6 separate regions of the Homo sapiens genome follow, and regions 2, 3, 4, 5 and 6 are each linked to region 1. The links are contacts of gene promoters, found by promoter capture Hi-C in blood cells and fetal thymus (Javierre and others, 2016). All regions are on one chromosome and are shown on one strand. Each heading gives the region's core, a stretch centred on a gene start or on the middle of the fragment in contact. The rest is flanking DNA. Distances are from core to core; before and after follow the strand shown. Region 1 holds the start of NDST3 (N-deacetylase and N-sulfotransferase 3). Region 2 has its middle 160 kb from the start of MIR1973. Region 3 has its middle 35 kb from the start of MIR1973. Region 4 has its middle 73 kb from the start of MIR1973. Region 5 has its middle 120 kb from the start of MIR1973. Region 6 has its middle 240 kb from the start of MIR1973.

Region 1 (2,700 bases), core at 35-2,534:
TGAAACACATGGCATTTGAAAAAAACTGGCGAACAGAGGAAACTCTTGCAGCCTCGCAGCCGCCCTGGTCCAGTGCCAACGGCAGGAGCACCACAGGAAGGGACCGCGCGGGTGCGCCCCACCCTTCCAGCGTCGCCTCGGGGACTCGCACCCCTTTCCCTGGCCGCACAAGACGTTTCATCCTTGGCGGCCGCCGCCAACCCGCCGGGAGGGGCGGTCGGAACTGGCAGGCCGGGGCGGAACCCCCGGGGTCTCCTTGTCGAGGCCCGGGCAGCCAGATCCTCAGGGCCGGTCCGGGCGGGAGCCCGGTCGATGGAGGCGGCTCCCGTCCTCAGCTCCCGCTCCCTCCCCTTCCCCGGGGCGGGCGCGCGCGGGCCGGGAGCTGGGAGGCGGCGGCTCCCGCCCGGGAGGCGGTGGCGAGGGCGGCGGAGGCGCGGCCGGGCGGGTCCCAGGGCCGTGGTTCTCCAGCGCAGGAGTCCCCGGCGCACCCGCTGCGCTCGCCCCGCAGCCGCAGCCTGAGCGGCCGAAGTCGCCACCAGCTGTGTCCGCGCAGATCCCGGGCGCGGAGGGGAGAGGTCGCCCGCTTGTCGCCCCCGCCGGACCCCGGGCACCGCGTAGCACCCAAGCGCCACCCGGACGAGGGGCCCTGGGGAGCGGCTGAGGCCGAAGACCCGAGGGAAGGAGGAGCCCGCGGACGGCTGCAGCCCCAGGTAATCTCCATGGAGGACGGGGCCGGTCTCCTCGCCCAGAAACCCGATCCGGGCGCCTTGGAATGCGGACTCCAGAGGCGGCATCTCGACCAGACAAGTTTCTCGCGGCTTGGAATGAGGGAGTCCTGAAACCGACACTCGTTTTATTTAACCAGCTTTTTTCTCCTGTTTTAAATAAGTTTATTTAGACAATGGAAAGAAAAAAACAAACAGCCTCTTGAGTGACTGTGGGTTTGTAAATATAATCCTAAAAGTTTTTCATGGTGTGGTTATTTGCTTGCTCATATTTATTAACCTGTTAACTCTTCCGCTAGTCAGAAAATTGACATGTAAAATATTCTTTGAGGAACGTTACAAGTTTGCTGTTGTATTCGGGCATCCTGTTATTCATCAGCTTAGTTAGCATCTGTCTTCCCCCGAAGTGGTACCAAAGCCGGTCCCTTGGCGACGGGTCTTGCATGTGACACTCTTGCCCTCTAGTGCCTCACCAGCTTGGTAGCAGTTTGATGGCTAATATTAATAAGATGTTACATAACATGAGAGTACTGGGCCAGGACTGGTGTTGCTACCACTTGTAAAGTCAAAAAGCCTGAGCCGATGGTAACGAGTGGTACTGTTTCCGTTTCTTTTCCATCTATTGCAACTTTCTCAAGCATTTTCAGCTCTGAACTTTAATTCCAGGTAAGTGTATTTATTTATTTATACTGTGCATTAATGCCTCACTCATAAATGTAGGGGCTTTTAAGAGATAACAACTTTGCTTTCAAATAATCTAAAAATTTCAAGATTGAACAAGTGCTTCATTTTATTCTTGAAGAAGAAATATAGAGTATTTTGATTAAATTAAGTGAAACAAAGGACCGTCTCATTCAGGGATGATTTTAAAGCTTCCCTTTCATAAGATTATGGTACTAAAGAAATGACCTCTTGTAATTGTTTAAGATATTCACCAACTTATAATGATTCTGAAGTAGATCTGTTTAACAGAACACATGTCTGTTGCCTTGACAGAATTTTGTAAGGAATATCAGAGACTTTAAACTACCTGCCTATCTACACAGTAATGATCCTCAAAAGGCTTTCTATTTGATGCAGTTTATAGACATTATTTAAAACTATACAATTAATAAAATTAAATGGAAATGGAAAGAATCAATCTAGGTATCAAATACAGAAACTTTAAATTTAAAGAAAACAGATATATCTTCTATTTAATATATCCATTTTGTGGGGGCAGGTAAAAGCAAAGTTACATCTTTAAGGGGTTTACTCAGATCCTTTTTCAAATAGTTTTTCTAATAGCTGGATACTGTTTAAGCATCAGAGTTATTTAATGTCGAAAATGTATTAGTATCTATATTCTTTATAAACATATTGAAATATAGCAACATGTAATCTGGAAGAGTTTAGAAGAAAACCCTTCTAGACAATGCAAACAGCTACATTCTTAATACATTTGTATTAAATTAAAATACAAATCAAATATTGAGATGTGTGCAACTGATCTGGGACACACACTTTTTTTTTGTTTTTTTTTTTTGCCCTTAGAAAATTTCATGTTATCAACTACTGAGCAATGCTGTTCACCACCAGAGAGCAGGATGATATGGCAGAGAAACTCTAGAATATCCGATATTCAGCTGAAGGGAATTTTTTTCCCTTTTTCTTCATCCATACCTTCCTATCAATATTATATTTAAGATGGAGATTTCAAATATAAGTTTGAAGGAGGCTCCTTTTTAAAATAGTACTGAACATATAAAGAGGCTTGCCTAAGATAAGCTCTTTTTTTTCTTTCTCTGGTTAACACAGTATCTACCATTTCTAATTTTGTTATCATTTTTCTTTATCATCTTGATGGTAAAACAGAAGATTTGTTTCTTTGTGTAAATAATGTTAATTTTGAGCTTGTCACATGAGTTAATTTTCTTCATAGTCTTTAAAATGAAGAATTCTTACATTACTAAAATGTTTTAGATAAAATAAAACT
Region 2 (2,700 bases), core at 101-2,600, 1.9 Mb before region 1:
ATCTACTCTGAAAATCCAACTTGGAAAAGGATAATTCCTTTTAAATATTGGAATACACAATATAGTACAAGGAGAGAACCTAAGGAGATAGCTAAAGAAAAGACAATCTGATAGATGCCAATGAGGTAGTTCAGCCAGGAATTGGGCAAGTCAAAAGCCTTACAAGTATCAATCAAGGATGTTGTAGAAGAAGTTCATGTAGTATAATTTAGCATTTATTGAGGATGGGAAATGTTAGCAACATTTGAACTAGATAGCATCTGGAATTTATTCAAATACCATCACCTATTCTTTAAATCAGACTTCAATTTATATTCCTATGTATAATTTACAATAGTATGAATAATCCTCAGAATCATTGTACATTTTTATATCACCCTTTATATAAGATAATGGAATTTTTTTCTCTGCTTTATGACTTCTGAGCTTTTATTATAAACATGGTATATATTAAATCCAAATAATAATTAGGCATTATTTTCTTAAATATGTTTGAAATTTTAAGATTTTACTATATTTACAGAAAAATAACTTAGTTACTATTTTAAAGTTTACAGCAAAGACTGCAAGATTTACATGTGTTTTGTTGTTTTAATTTTGGTTAATCTCTATCACTAAACATGGATAAGAATTTACTCTTTCCGGAAGCCCAGACACACATGAACCTCATTAATTAAAATATAATTCATAAATCCCAAATGTTGGCGGTGTAAAAAAGAAAGTTCTGACACCTCTATATGATCATGATAGGTAACAGTGAGTGAGACATCTTTTTTTCCTATGTGGTATTTTGGGTTGATCTTTAAGAATAATATTGGCCCATAAGCTTCTATGTTTTCCTTCATTATATAAATTTAAAATCACTAGTATACTCTTCTCATGAACCAAGTGTGTCCCTATGCTCTGTCTGAATTTAAATAACTGGAATCATCTGTTATAGAAAAGTTCATTGAGCTGTATTGGGATCTTCCATGTTTGGTTTCTGGAGGGGGTACATTTACTTAAAGCCTTACAGATTATCTTATATAAAATAACATGTTTAATTTTTCTGCTATATATTTTTGAAATTTTTACTTTAAGACTGATTTCACTCAATTTTTCTAAATGTATGTGCACAGAAACGAAAAATATTAACTTACCACTATTTTATTAATAACATAATCATTTTTTATTCTCATTTAAGATTCTGTACCATTATATAACCTTTCTAATATTTTTATGTTAGTACTAGTTTCCTATTTATTATAACTAGATAATTCTGGAAAACCCCACGTTTTATCATAATTTTTACTTTTAAGTTTTATTACTTAAATTTATTATTTTGTTTCATGACTCTGTATGGGTTAGAAATATATACACATTCTCAAATGTTTCAATATTTATTGAATTATAAAATATCCTAAAAGAAAAACTATGTCTCTTTTATATTCTGGAATCTAAAGACTATCAGTGATTTTTCATTACTGAATTTTCATATTGAGCAAAATTGCTCTATGAACCCATTTCTAATGTAGAATAAACTATGGCTTAATAGATAATAGTGGTTACTATTCTGCTGTTACTTCATTTCCTCTGTCTGACTTTTATCCAATAATCCATGTTATTCATCTACCTCCTGTGGGCAGTATTCATTTCTAAGTTACATACATTTTTGTTTTCTGGTGTTTGAGCAAGAACAGTTTTCAGTCCTGCCATTAACTTTAAATTATTGTATTTAGTATTTAGTATTTTTAACAGAAAATGGTAATATATGTATTTATAATTTGAAGTCATAGTACTAGAAATAATGTTGATCTATATTTTATTAATCAGTGTTTTCCTATGATAAAACCTCTTTCTTTAAAATTATGCAACCTAGGTAACATTCTTAAGATGAAAGCTTAATATTGGATCTTTTAAGAGAAATATATTAATCCAACTCAAGTACTGTCCCTAAAAGAATTTTATCTAAGAAGTATTAATGTAAATAATGTGCCTATCAAAAAGGCATTGGAATAATAAACACAATTTGATAAATTAAGCAAATAAAAATAGTCTACGTATATAATATTTTCATAATTATGAGAAATTAAATATGGTTTTAAAAAGTATTTATTAGCTAAAATATTTTATAAGTGATACAAACAGTAACCTAACACTTTAGATAAAACTTTTAGAAATTTAGGACAAAATTGTTTTTCTCTCTAAGAAATTTATAAAAAATATCTTATTTCAGATTGATATATATATATATATATTGCAGGGCAAGTTTATTTCAAACAATCATCTAATTTTTATACAAGGACCCTGGAAATATTCTGAACTTCAGCACTTTCATTCATCAACCCATGGATTGAAACTAGCTAATATAAGAAACAAAAGGCCTGGTGCAGTGGCTCACGCCTGCAATCCCAGCACTTTGGGAGGCTGAGGCGGACGAATCACCAGGTCAAGAGACCGAGACCATACTGGCCAACATGGTGAAACCCTGTCTCTACTAAAAATACAAAAATTAGCTGGGTGTGGTGGCGGGCGCCTGTAGTACCAGCTACTCGAGAGGCCAAAGCAAGAGAATCGCTTGAACCCGGGAAGCGGAGGTTGCAGTGAGCCAAGATCACGCCACTGCACTACAGCCTGGCGAGAGAGCGAGACTCCGTCTCAAAAAAAAAAAAGAAAAAAAAAAAGAAAAAACCCAACAAAACAAAACAAAACAAAACAAAA
Region 3 (2,700 bases), core at 144-2,643, 1.7 Mb before region 1:
TTCATTTATTTTGTCAAGAAAAATAAACAGCTGCTTTCTTTCTTCCCATGATAAATAAAGTCTTTTCAACTGGAAAGAATAAGATTGGGTCCACATAATAAATTACTATGTCAATAAGGTACTATTGATTCTTGGGGTAATCATCCTTAAACTATGTGGGATAAGATAATTCTGCTAAGTAGATCTAATGTTATTCAGGGGTAATATAAGGTATTTGTATAAAATAAGGAAAAAGGATCATAAATTTTAAAAACTTTATGCAGAATTACACATAATATGTTTTATAACAACCTATGAATGGAACTCCAAAATCAGTAAAATGATTAATTAATATGCATGGAGTGATCCATTGAGACATAGTGCTGTTTTTTGGAAGAGAGGAAGCTTCCTTTGCCTTTTAATCATTGTTATTTTGGACATTTCTTCAGTAGTTTTTAAAGATTAGGCTGCAATATGGAGATAGAAGATAATTGCAAATCTCCCTGTCTTAAAATAAATCTTTCACATTTTTCTGTGTAGTATCTTGCTTAAAAGCATATAAAATTATTGCTTTAGTTTATTTCTTCAAACGTGGTCATTGAATACCATGTTAAATAATAAAATATAAGAAAAAATAATGCTTGTCATATTGAATCTTTAGTTTTATGTATATCCAATTTCTTGTTTCTAAATATGTGGATGAATAGCTTTAAAATATTTTCCTGAGGCGGGTGGATCACGAGGTTAGGAGTTCAAGACCAGCCTGGCCACGATGGTGAAACTCCATCTCTACTAAAAATGCAAAAATTAGCCAGGCGTGGTGGCAGCTGCCTGTAATCCCAGCTACTCAGGAGGCTGAGGCAGGAGAATTGCTTGAACCCGGAGGTTGCAGTGAGCCGAGATAGTGCCATTGCACGCCAGCCTGTGTGACAGAGCAAGACTCTGTCTCAAAAAAAAAAAAAATTCCCAACCATACTGATTCACGTTCTTGATAATTATTCTTGATAATTTTTCTAACAAGCAAGTAATTTTATAACATTTGTCATTAAAAATATTATAGTAAGTCAGTCATAGCACAATTATGTACATGCTAATTACAATCAAAGTCCTGTCTCTATCTCTAAACTCATCCCGAAACAATATACTAAGAAATTCACTTCCCACTTCCAAATTCCTAAATGTTACATTAATGTGCATCTCAGTCTTAATATATTAAAAGCAAAATTGATTATATTTGTCTCCTCTCTACTGCACAAATTAGTTTCTCCTATATTCTTCTCATTTAATTAGCACCTGCAAAACCAAATCTGCAAATAATCGCTTGATTCCTCCTAGTTGCTCTTAATAGATCATCTTTCATCAATTCCTGCCATCAAATATAATTCAAATCCATTTATTTTCACTGCTGACATTAACTCCTACCTGTAGTACTACCATAGCTTTAAACTGACCCCCTGCTGCCAAGCTACAAGCCTTACTCCACGTAATAACTAGGGTGAATTTTTAAACATAAATAGTTTATATTATTCTCCTGCTTAAGATTTATCATGCCAGATTTAACACTTATCAAAACGGCCAAAATCAAGCCCCCAGAGACAAAGGCAAGTAAACAAAATCCTACAGACTATGGATGGTAGCTTACATTTGGATGTAGGGAATGGCATAGGAAGAACAAAATTGGCACAGGGACATCAGCTAATCCCTGATATAAAACTTCAGTCTCTCTGGAATGAATGTAAAATCTGAAGATTTTCTGGAATGATAATAAACAATGGTACTAAATGCGAAAGATAGCAAAGCAGGCACTTAAATTTGATTGTCTTGGGTCTAAGCACCAATTCTTGAGCTGGGTACATAGAAGGAGCATCATTTCAAGGAAACCATCACCAAGATGAAGCACACAAAAAATCATACTGTCATCTAGGACCAACAGAGTAGAGCTTGTCAGCCCTCTTGACAACCATGTATATGTAACTTTTAGAAGAAGCAGAAAGAAAAGAGGTACCATTTTAATTTAGATATTATTTTTATATATAATTGCATAGATTTATGTATACATATGCATAAATATACACAATAATATATAGTGAAAAATAAAATCAGATCAACTTAGAATGTTAAGTGTTTATTGTGCATATAAAAAACCCACTTTATGATCAACTTAGAATGTTAAGTGTTTATTGTGGATACAAAAAAAAAAACACTTCACAAACTGGGAGACTTCATATCAAAAAATGGCACAAAGTCACTGTATTACAGCAATTATAGCACACCTTACCAATCATAAAGGATAAAGTATTTTGACTTTTTAATGATTGACTGCCATGTATATTTTTAGGTAAATAGAGCTGTTTAATCTGATTCATTAATAAGTGATTGGTTTAGTTGGTTTAATTTCATTTAATCATGCTGATAAGGATAAAAAAGCTTATGTTTGTGTTTTATTTATGTTTAAGGTTAGTGTTTTGGGGAAATCAGAATGACTTAAGTTTTGGTTACATGGCTATGGGTGGTTGACTTTAGGGTATTCAGACTGTTATCTCCATTTTTGTTTATTTATTTCTAACAGGACATATATTGTTTATATTCCCTTCTGCCCTTTGAAGGTAATTGAAATGAACGAACAATAGACAGACTAACAGGAGAAAAGGCATATAAATGTATTAACATGCAAGCCAAATCCTTTATATGGTCCTGAAAGCATAGAAAACACAGCAAAAA
Region 4 (2,700 bases), core at 59-2,558, 1.7 Mb before region 1:
TTCATCCTTGTCATGTCATCATTTCTTAATGTAGTTTTCCTTTACACAATGTTTTTATGTTTCAGACACTTTCTTAAATGCTTGATAAATATTAAGTCATTTAGTCCTTGAAGCGTCCCAACAAAAGTTAGGCATTACTATTTATAGATGATAAAACTGGGGCACAAATAGATAAAATAATTTCTTCCAGTTTGCATAACAAGTATATGGGAGAGCTGTGATTTGAATTTAGAAGTTCTGGCTCTAGATTCCAACTTCTTCAAAGAAAGCACTTTTGGTAGAAACATAAGTGCTACAAAATTCTTCAAGGTGTGTGTTCTGGAAATATTTATAGCCATGAAAATACACACCCATAGTGTGGCATTTTATGATGTAATTATAAAGTGGTCTGTAGATACAAACCTGAAGTAAATCCCATGATGTAATGTTAATGGAAAAACTTGCGATTTAGAGTAATCTACTGTAGTATTTATTTCTGGATTCTTAACTTTGTTGTATCTGTTGAATTAATGTTTTCACATCAAAATGATGTTAAATTGATATCCATGACTTGTATGTTCTGAGCAAATTTTCCTTTTCTGTGATACATTTTTATGTTTATTTTTAGCTAATTTAGCTGAAAACATTTTAAAAGTATTATGTTGAAATAAAAGTATTTGTAGAGATAATTTTTGAATAATTTTTATTCTGATGATACTAAATTTTCCACTTAATAGCATGGCATACTTTCTACATTTTCATAAAATATTTTATAAATTTTATGTCATTTTGTGTTTTTCTTATATATCTCATTCCATTCTTATCAAATACCTTTATGTCCTTATTATACACTTTTACACTATTTTAAATGCATTATTCCCCCATTCCTATTGCTAACTATTTATTGCTTAGGTATAAGTAAGCAATTCATTTTGAGATATTTATCTATGTATCTATCTAATGTTTTAGGTCACCTTCCAAAAATTTATTTATGTATTCATTCATTAATTCATTAATTTATTCATTTATTTTAAAATTATATATAGAGTTTCTTATTTTTTCAAAGAAGGGAGAAAAGAGAAGAAAAACTTAAGGAGATTTCATGGTGTCTGTTTGTGCCACTGCTGTCACTTCTAAATTTCTGACTGCATTAAATTGAGGCTGAGGGATACAGAGAGGAAAATAATGGTAAATCACTACACGTTCAATGGTGCTTTAAGTCACGGTGTTCTTTAGTGATTTACTACCTGCTATCTACTTTCAAAGTTCTCAAATAGCTGCTATATTTCTTTTGAATAATTTTGTATGGTTTTATTCATTGAATGGGACAGCTAAAGTATATTTATATCAATTTTTGCCCAGAACTGAAAACCCTGTTATTCACTTTTAAGTTCTTAACATATGATTTAATAAAAGGGATGTGATTTCTTATCATCACTGGCTTTATTCCAATAGATTGCAGGCTTATGGTTGTATAATTAACTCCAAACTCATAAAGTTATACTTATTAAGTATGCACAGTATTTTGTATGCCAATCATACCTCAAGAAAGTGGTTTTGAAAACACTATTAAATATTTATCCTTATTTTTTTGTCTGATAATAATATAGCCAATTCCATTTTCTTCTGTTTTGAAACTCTTCTAAATTTGTTTCATTTAAAAATGTAGTTCAGAGTATAGTTCTTCAGAAATCAGAAAGAAAATGCTTCATAGAACATAAAACATTTTGATAAAACATGTATAAATATACAGACCTTCAACTAGATAATTAACCACTGCTTCTCACAGACATACCCATTAAATGTATGCCCCCTCAACATCTATATCTATTAATATAAAATATTAAGTTCAAGCACAGCAATAAATAGCCAATAAAATCTTTAAGAGAAAAATAAAGGTATACATTTTGATCCACAAGTAGAACTTTTTTCCTTAAAATTGCACTCAAATTACATCCTGTCTTTTGTTTTGTCTCTAATAAAGTGTAAGTCATTTCTACACTGCTCAGAAGAAGAATGATTGGATTCAGAGAGGGTTAGCTTAATGTAATCCATCAAATATTTAATATTAATAGTAGCTGCAAGCAATACATCAACCTTATTTATAATAAATACAAATAGAAGAAAAACAAATGGATAAGACATTGAAATTCTCTTTCCATGCTTATAATGAATTAGTTTCCATGCCCTCAAAGCATATATTGAATACGGTAGGTGGATGTCATTGTAGGGTTATTTTTAATATGCTAATATTTTACTATTGGAGAAATAATATTTTATAATGGTTACTACAAAGTTTTAATTAACATATAATTTATTAAGTACAGTAATCCCTTGGTATCCACGGGGGATTGATTGGTTCAAGGATTTTCTGTGGATACCAAAATCCACAGATGTTCAAGTCCCTTTATATAAATTGTGTAATATTTGCATATAACTTGTGCACATCCTCTCATATACTTAAATCATCTCTGGATTACATATAATACCTAACACAATGTAAATGCAATATAAATTGTTGTTACGTTATACTGTTTAGGGAATAAAGACCAAAAAAAAAAAAGCCTGTACATGTTTAGTACAGATTCACTTTTTCTTTGAATACTTTCTATTCATGGTTAATTGAATCTATGGATGTGGAATCCATGGATAATGAGAAACAATTATATCAATAATTCCTTAAAATTACTAAATTAGAACAATTATATTTTAGAAATATAG
Region 5 (2,700 bases), core at 37-2,536, 1.9 Mb before region 1:
GGGAGGTGGAGCTTGCAGTGAGCTGAAATCACGCCACTGCACTCAAGCCTGGGCAACAGAGCGGACTCCGTCTCAAAAAAAAAAAAAAAAAGAAAGAAAGAAAGATAGATTACATAGCAAAGAGAAAGGAGGTGTTTTTTGTTTGTTTGTTTGTTTGTTTTAATATAGCCCTCTCTACAGCAGATAAATTCCAAAATTAGTAGTAGTTATTTATCTTTTCCAAAATCCCTTCATGGTCATACAGCGTCTAAGACAGGCTTTGCTCTGCTGTACTTTAAAAATAAGTTGAACTCAACTGGGCATTGTGGCACATGCCTGTAGTCACAGCCACTTGGGAGGCTGAGGTGGGAGGACTGCTTGAGCCCAGGCAGTTTGAAGCTGCAGTGAGCTGTGATTATGCCACCGCACTCCAGCCTGGGCAACAGAGTGAGATCCTATCTCTAAAAAGAAATACTTTTTAAAAATAAGTTTAACTCTGCTCTTGTTTCTTATAATGCATATCCAAAGGCTCATATTGTTGGTCAGCAAAACCAAATAATCATATAAACAACAGTGTCCACATGTTTTAGAAAGCACATTTTTAATAATGTTTAGTGGTGCGTATTCTCTGTGTCTTCACCTCCAAAATACTGAACTTATTGAATATTTGTTCTAAACACAAAATGGCTAGGTGTGCTGGCTCACACCTGTAATCCCAGCAATTTAGGAAGCTGAGGCAGGAGGATTCCTTGAGCTCAGCAGTTCAAAAGTAGCCTGTGCAACATAGGGAGACTTTGTCTCTTAAAAAAAAAAAGAAAAGAAAGAAAGAAAGAAAAAAAACCATATCTAAGCATGTGGCACATGCATTTGGTCCCAGCCACTTGGGAGGCTGTAGTGGAGGATCGTTTGATCCCATGAGGCCGAGGCTGCAATGAGCTGTGCTGAGGCTGCAATGAGCTGTGATCATGCCACTGCACAACCTGGATTGCACAGCCTGGGCAAGAAGAGCAAAATCCTGTCTCAAAAACAAATAAATTAAACAAATAAATAAATACAATATTTCTATACTCAAGGGAAATTCTGACGAATGATTTCCTTCCTTTTTTATAGGTCAGAATGTAAAGTGTGTGGTAGATGAAAGAGAGTGTGATAGGAGGGACACATAGGGGCTTGCATGGGAGGAAAGACTACCCAGATCTGGAAATAAAAAGTGAAGATTTCAGAGGGTTGAAAACAGGAAGTGGAACCATTATTTTAACTACAGGTGGGAGAAGCATATCTAAACACTAGAAAGCCAATATTATGGGAAAAATTATCCTTGAATAGTTCAATTCTGGATATAAGGAGGAAACAAAATTTAGATGTATGGGTGTCAGCAAGGCTGTGAAAGGAATGAAAAATGAGAGCTTGCAAAACCTTATGAGATAAAATTATGAAAATCTAGAAATATAATCCTGTGTCTGATTACATTTTTTTAAAATTACTTTTCTCTCTATCTCTATATGTATGTATATAATCAAAGAAAATATGTGTAAAATCTGTTATGAAAGAGTATACAGCCCATTTTGTACCACAAAATAGAAATTTAATTACCAAAGTTTGTATAGACTGTCAAACATATTTGTTGAGATACAATTAGATACAATATTATAGTCAGTTGTATTAGTATGTATGTTTATTTTGTGTAAAAATATCATTCTTCGGAAAGCAAATTGCAACTAAAGTATCTAACAAGAGACTCAATCTCATTACTTCATAGATTTTATTATACTTTCTCATTATGCAATGAGCTGTCTTGTTATTATTTCTTCCTCAGAGGATCATTAAACATTTACATATATATTTTAATAGCCTGCAGTTTCGATTAGATGGAGGACATTGGCATTATAATTTTGTGAACAGATCACTGTCCTCTGAGCTGGTTTATGTTTGTTTACTGATCTTCCAGCAGATGGTGCCCTTGCAACAGATATTCTTGTTTTTTGTTTTGTTTTTTCATGATTGGGGTAAAAGATGCATCACTACTTTCTCTTTTGTGGTGGTATAATTAATAAAGATATATTTTATGAACATATTGTACCCCTTCTACATTTTTCTCAGTATTTCAGAAACAGCAAGACTGCCTAGGAATATGAATAGATATTATTGCTTGCTTTTCCTGTCTTCCTCCTCCCGAAGAGTTACAGTCATTTGCTCTTCTCACACTCCAAACAGTAGACTGTTTACATTCTATAGTCAAGTATTTTCTGTTACCAGGATTCTGGAGACAGATAGCCCATGGCTTAAAACAGTCCTTAAGCAATCTTTTACCAAATCCTGTGACTTTTCTGTAGAACATTCCTCTGTTATTTTAGCTCCCCATTTGACTCTGGCAGACAGTTCACCTTTTCTATTTCACTGTGCAGTATTGCAGGGGTTATATTACTTCCTTCGTTTGCTTATTTTTTCAGTTGGCTATGTTATTCTGGAAATTGTAACTAATTTGGAGGCATTATCTTACAATTGTTTTTGTAAGGCCAATAGAAATGCAATATAACATTTGCAGCCAGTAAGGCTTAATAAATTAAACATGCTGCTTATAGTTTTAAATCATTTTTTATTCATGTCCAGATGCTAACTTTCTCTTAATACTTGAATTTGTGTAATCATTCTTACCCTCAATATAGTCTCTATAATTAAAATGGTCTCCTCACGGCTTTCACAATATGCATCCTCCTTCCT
Region 6 (2,700 bases), core at 32-2,531, 2.0 Mb before region 1:
TAGTCCATTTTCACATGGGTATAAAGAACTGCCTGAGACTGGGTAACTTATGAAGAAAAAGGTTTAATTTAACTTAAGCTTTATGAAGGTTAAGTTACCTTCATAAAAGTAAATTATGAAGAAACAGTTCCACAGGGCTAGGGAGGTCTCAGGAAACTTATAATCATGGTGGAAGGTGAAGGGGAAGCAAGCATGTTCCTCACATGGCAGCAGGAGAGAGAGAGCGGGTGAAGAGGGAAGTGAAACTTTTAAACCATCAGATCTGGTAAGAAGTCACTCACTACCATGAGAACAGCATGGGGGATACCATCCCCATGATCCAATTGTCTCCCACCAGGTTATTCCCTCAGCATGTGAGGATTACAATTTGAGATGAGATTTGGGTGGGGACACAAAGCCAAGCCATATCATTCTGCCCATAGCCCCTCACAAATCTCATATCCTTTTTACAATTCAAAACCAATAATGCCTTCCCAACAGTCTCCCAAATCTTATCTAATTCCAGAATTAGCTCAAAAGTCTAAGTACAAAATCTCATCTAAGATAAGGTAAGTCCCTTCCACCTATGAGCCTGTAAAATAAAAAACAGGTTAGTTACTTCCAAGATACAATGGGGGTACAAGCATTGGGTAAATGTTCCCAATACAAATGGGAGAAATTGGCCAAAACTACGGAGCTACAGTACCCACGCAAATTCAAAGCCTGTTAGGACACTGATTAAATCTTAAAGATCCAAAATAATCTCCTTCGACTCCATGTTTCACATCCAGGGCACGCTGAAGCAAGGGGTAGGCTCCCAACGCCTTGAGCAGCTTCAACTCTGTGGCTCTGCAGGGTTCAGCCCCTGCAGCTGCTTTCACAGGCTGGAGTGAGTGCCTGTGGCTTTTCTAGGCACACGGCACAAGCTGTTGGTGGATCTACAATTCTGAGATCTGGAGGACAGTGGCCTTTTTTTCATCAGGCAGTGCTCCAGTGGGGACTCTGTGTGGGGGCTCCAACCCCACATTCTTCCTTGGCCTTGGCCTAGTAGAGCTCCTCCATGAGAGCTCCACCCCTGAGCAGACTTCTGCCTGGACACCTAGGAATTTCCATATATCCTCTGAAATCTAGGCAGAGACTCTCAAAGTTCAACTCTTGTCTTCTGTATACTGTCAGGCCCAACACCATGTGGAAGCCACTGAAACTTGGGGCTAACACACACTGGGGCAATGGCCTGAGCTTACCCTGGCCCCTTTTAGCCATAGCTGGAGCTGTAGCAGCTGGGACCCAGAGCACCACATCCTGAGGCTGCACAGAGCAGCAGGGCCCTGGGCCTAGCCCACCAAACCATTTTTCCTAGACTTCCAAGCATGTGATGGGAGGGGCTGCCATGCAGATGTAAGAAAACCCTGGAGACATTTTTCTCATTATCTTGACTGTAAACATTTGGTTTCTCCTTACTTACGTAAATTTCTGCAGCTGGCTTGAATTTCTCCCCAGAAAATGGGTTTTCCTTTTCCATCACATGATCTGGCAGTAAATTTTCCAAGGCTTTATGCTCTGTTTCCCTTTTAAATATAAGTTTCCATTTCAAATTATGTCTTTGTGAATGCTTATGACTCTATACTTTTAGAAAAAGCCAGGTGACCTCTTGAACACTTTACTGTTTAGGAATTTCTTCCATCGGATACCTTAAATCATCCCTCTCTGGTTTAAACTTCCACAGACCTTTTCCGCTGTTGACAGGGGTAGAATACCACCAGTTCCTTTGCTAAAGCATAGCAAGGGTAACCTTTGCTCCAGTTCCCAATAAGTTCCTCATTACCATCTGAGGCCACCTCATTCTGAACTTCATTGCCCACATCACTATCAGCACTTTGGTCAAATCCATACAATAAGTCTCTAAGAGATTGCAAAGTTTCCTTTATCTTCTTGTCTTCTTCTGAGCCCTCCAAACTGTTTGATTGACTCACAGTTTTCTATGACTGGGGAGGCCTCAGGAAACTTACAGTCATGGTGGAAGGTGAAGAGAAGGCGAGCACCTTTTTTACATGGTGGCAGGAGAGAGAGACCAAAGGGGAAGAGCCCCTTGTAATACCATCAGATCCCATGAGAACTCACTCACTATCATGAGAACAGCATAGGTGAAACCACCCCCATGATCCAATCAGCTCCCATCAGGTCTCTCCCTTGACACATGGGGATTATCAGGATTATAATTTGAGATGAGATTTGGTGGGCACTCTGAGACTGTAGTAGGTATGTTCAGGGAAGGGCTATTAGAAGCAATTAGTTTTACCATTCATTTATCCTAATGTGAATTCCAGAAGTCAGTGATCACACGGAGGCATATATACAACAAGCACACACATACGCACACATGTACATACACACACCATAAAAGTAGCAATATTGTGCCTTGGCCACTGAATGAGTAGTCAATTATCAACTGATGTTTGAAGGATTCAACCTGAAACAACTAGGCTAAGGGAAACAAAAAAAGAACAAGCTTATGATCCAAGTAACGATGATCCTGCACATACTTGTTATATTTTTAGATGATCTGCTGAGGTCAATAAAATTTTTAGTGTTGGAAAATGTTTAAAATGATTCTTTTAGAATCACCCTAAGGATTAGTTGAGGATCATAGCAAAAATGCTCTGATCCTGACTTCTTGCCTCAGGAGTTTCTAGGTTGAAACATTAAAATAATAATTTCCTA

What was found. The method cuts DNA at HindIII sites, captures the fragments that hold promoters and counts their contacts. A CHiCAGO score of 5 or more calls a contact.
Region 2: a contact is called between a fragment that was not itself captured here and the fragment with the promoter of NDST3 in region 1, in 1 of 17 cell types (M2 macrophages). The highest score is 5.6, in M2 macrophages.
Region 3: a fragment that was not itself captured here is called in contact with the fragment with the promoter of NDST3 in region 1 in 1 of 17 cell types (M0 macrophages); the score reaches 7.0 in M0 macrophages.
Region 4: a fragment that was not itself captured here is called in contact with the fragment with the promoter of NDST3 in region 1 in 1 of 17 cell types (M2 macrophages); the score reaches 7.2 in M2 macrophages.
Region 5: a fragment that was not itself captured here is called in contact with the fragment with the promoter of NDST3 in region 1 in 1 of 17 cell types (megakaryocytes); the score reaches 11.6 in megakaryocytes.
Region 6: a contact is called between a fragment that was not itself captured here and the fragment with the promoter of NDST3 in region 1, in 3 of 17 cell types (megakaryocytes, M0 macrophages and M1 macrophages). The highest score is 9.3, in megakaryocytes.

The regions. Positions count from the first base shown.
Region 1 is chr4:118,033,202-118,035,901 of GRCh38, forward strand. It overlaps NDST3 (N-deacetylase and N-sulfotransferase 3), which reads left to right and starts at 1,285. Exons shown (of 14, transcript NM_004784.3): 1 at 1,285-1,391. The HindIII fragment of the contact is 5,573 bases long and covers 1-1,595 here.
Region 2 is chr4:116,134,224-116,136,923 of GRCh38, forward strand. No RefSeq gene overlaps it. Among named protein-coding and RNA genes, the nearest start is that of MIR1973, 160 kb to the right of the region's middle. The HindIII fragment of the contact is 1,053 bases long and covers 825-1,877 here.
Region 3 is chr4:116,333,319-116,336,018 of GRCh38, forward strand. No RefSeq gene overlaps it. Among named protein-coding and RNA genes, the nearest start is that of MIR1973, 35 kb to the left of the region's middle. The HindIII fragment of the contact is 2,022 bases long and covers 383-2,404 here.
Region 4 is chr4:116,371,310-116,374,009 of GRCh38, forward strand. No RefSeq gene overlaps it. Among named protein-coding and RNA genes, the nearest start is that of MIR1973, 73 kb to the left of the region's middle. The HindIII fragment of the contact is 7,978 bases long and covers 1-2,700 here.
Region 5 is chr4:116,178,320-116,181,019 of GRCh38, forward strand. No RefSeq gene overlaps it. Among named protein-coding and RNA genes, the nearest start is that of MIR1973, 120 kb to the right of the region's middle. The HindIII fragment of the contact is 6,350 bases long and covers 1-2,700 here.
Region 6 is chr4:116,058,099-116,060,798 of GRCh38, forward strand. No RefSeq gene overlaps it. Among named protein-coding and RNA genes, the nearest start is that of MIR1973, 240 kb to the right of the region's middle. The HindIII fragment of the contact is 2,410 bases long and covers 77-2,486 here.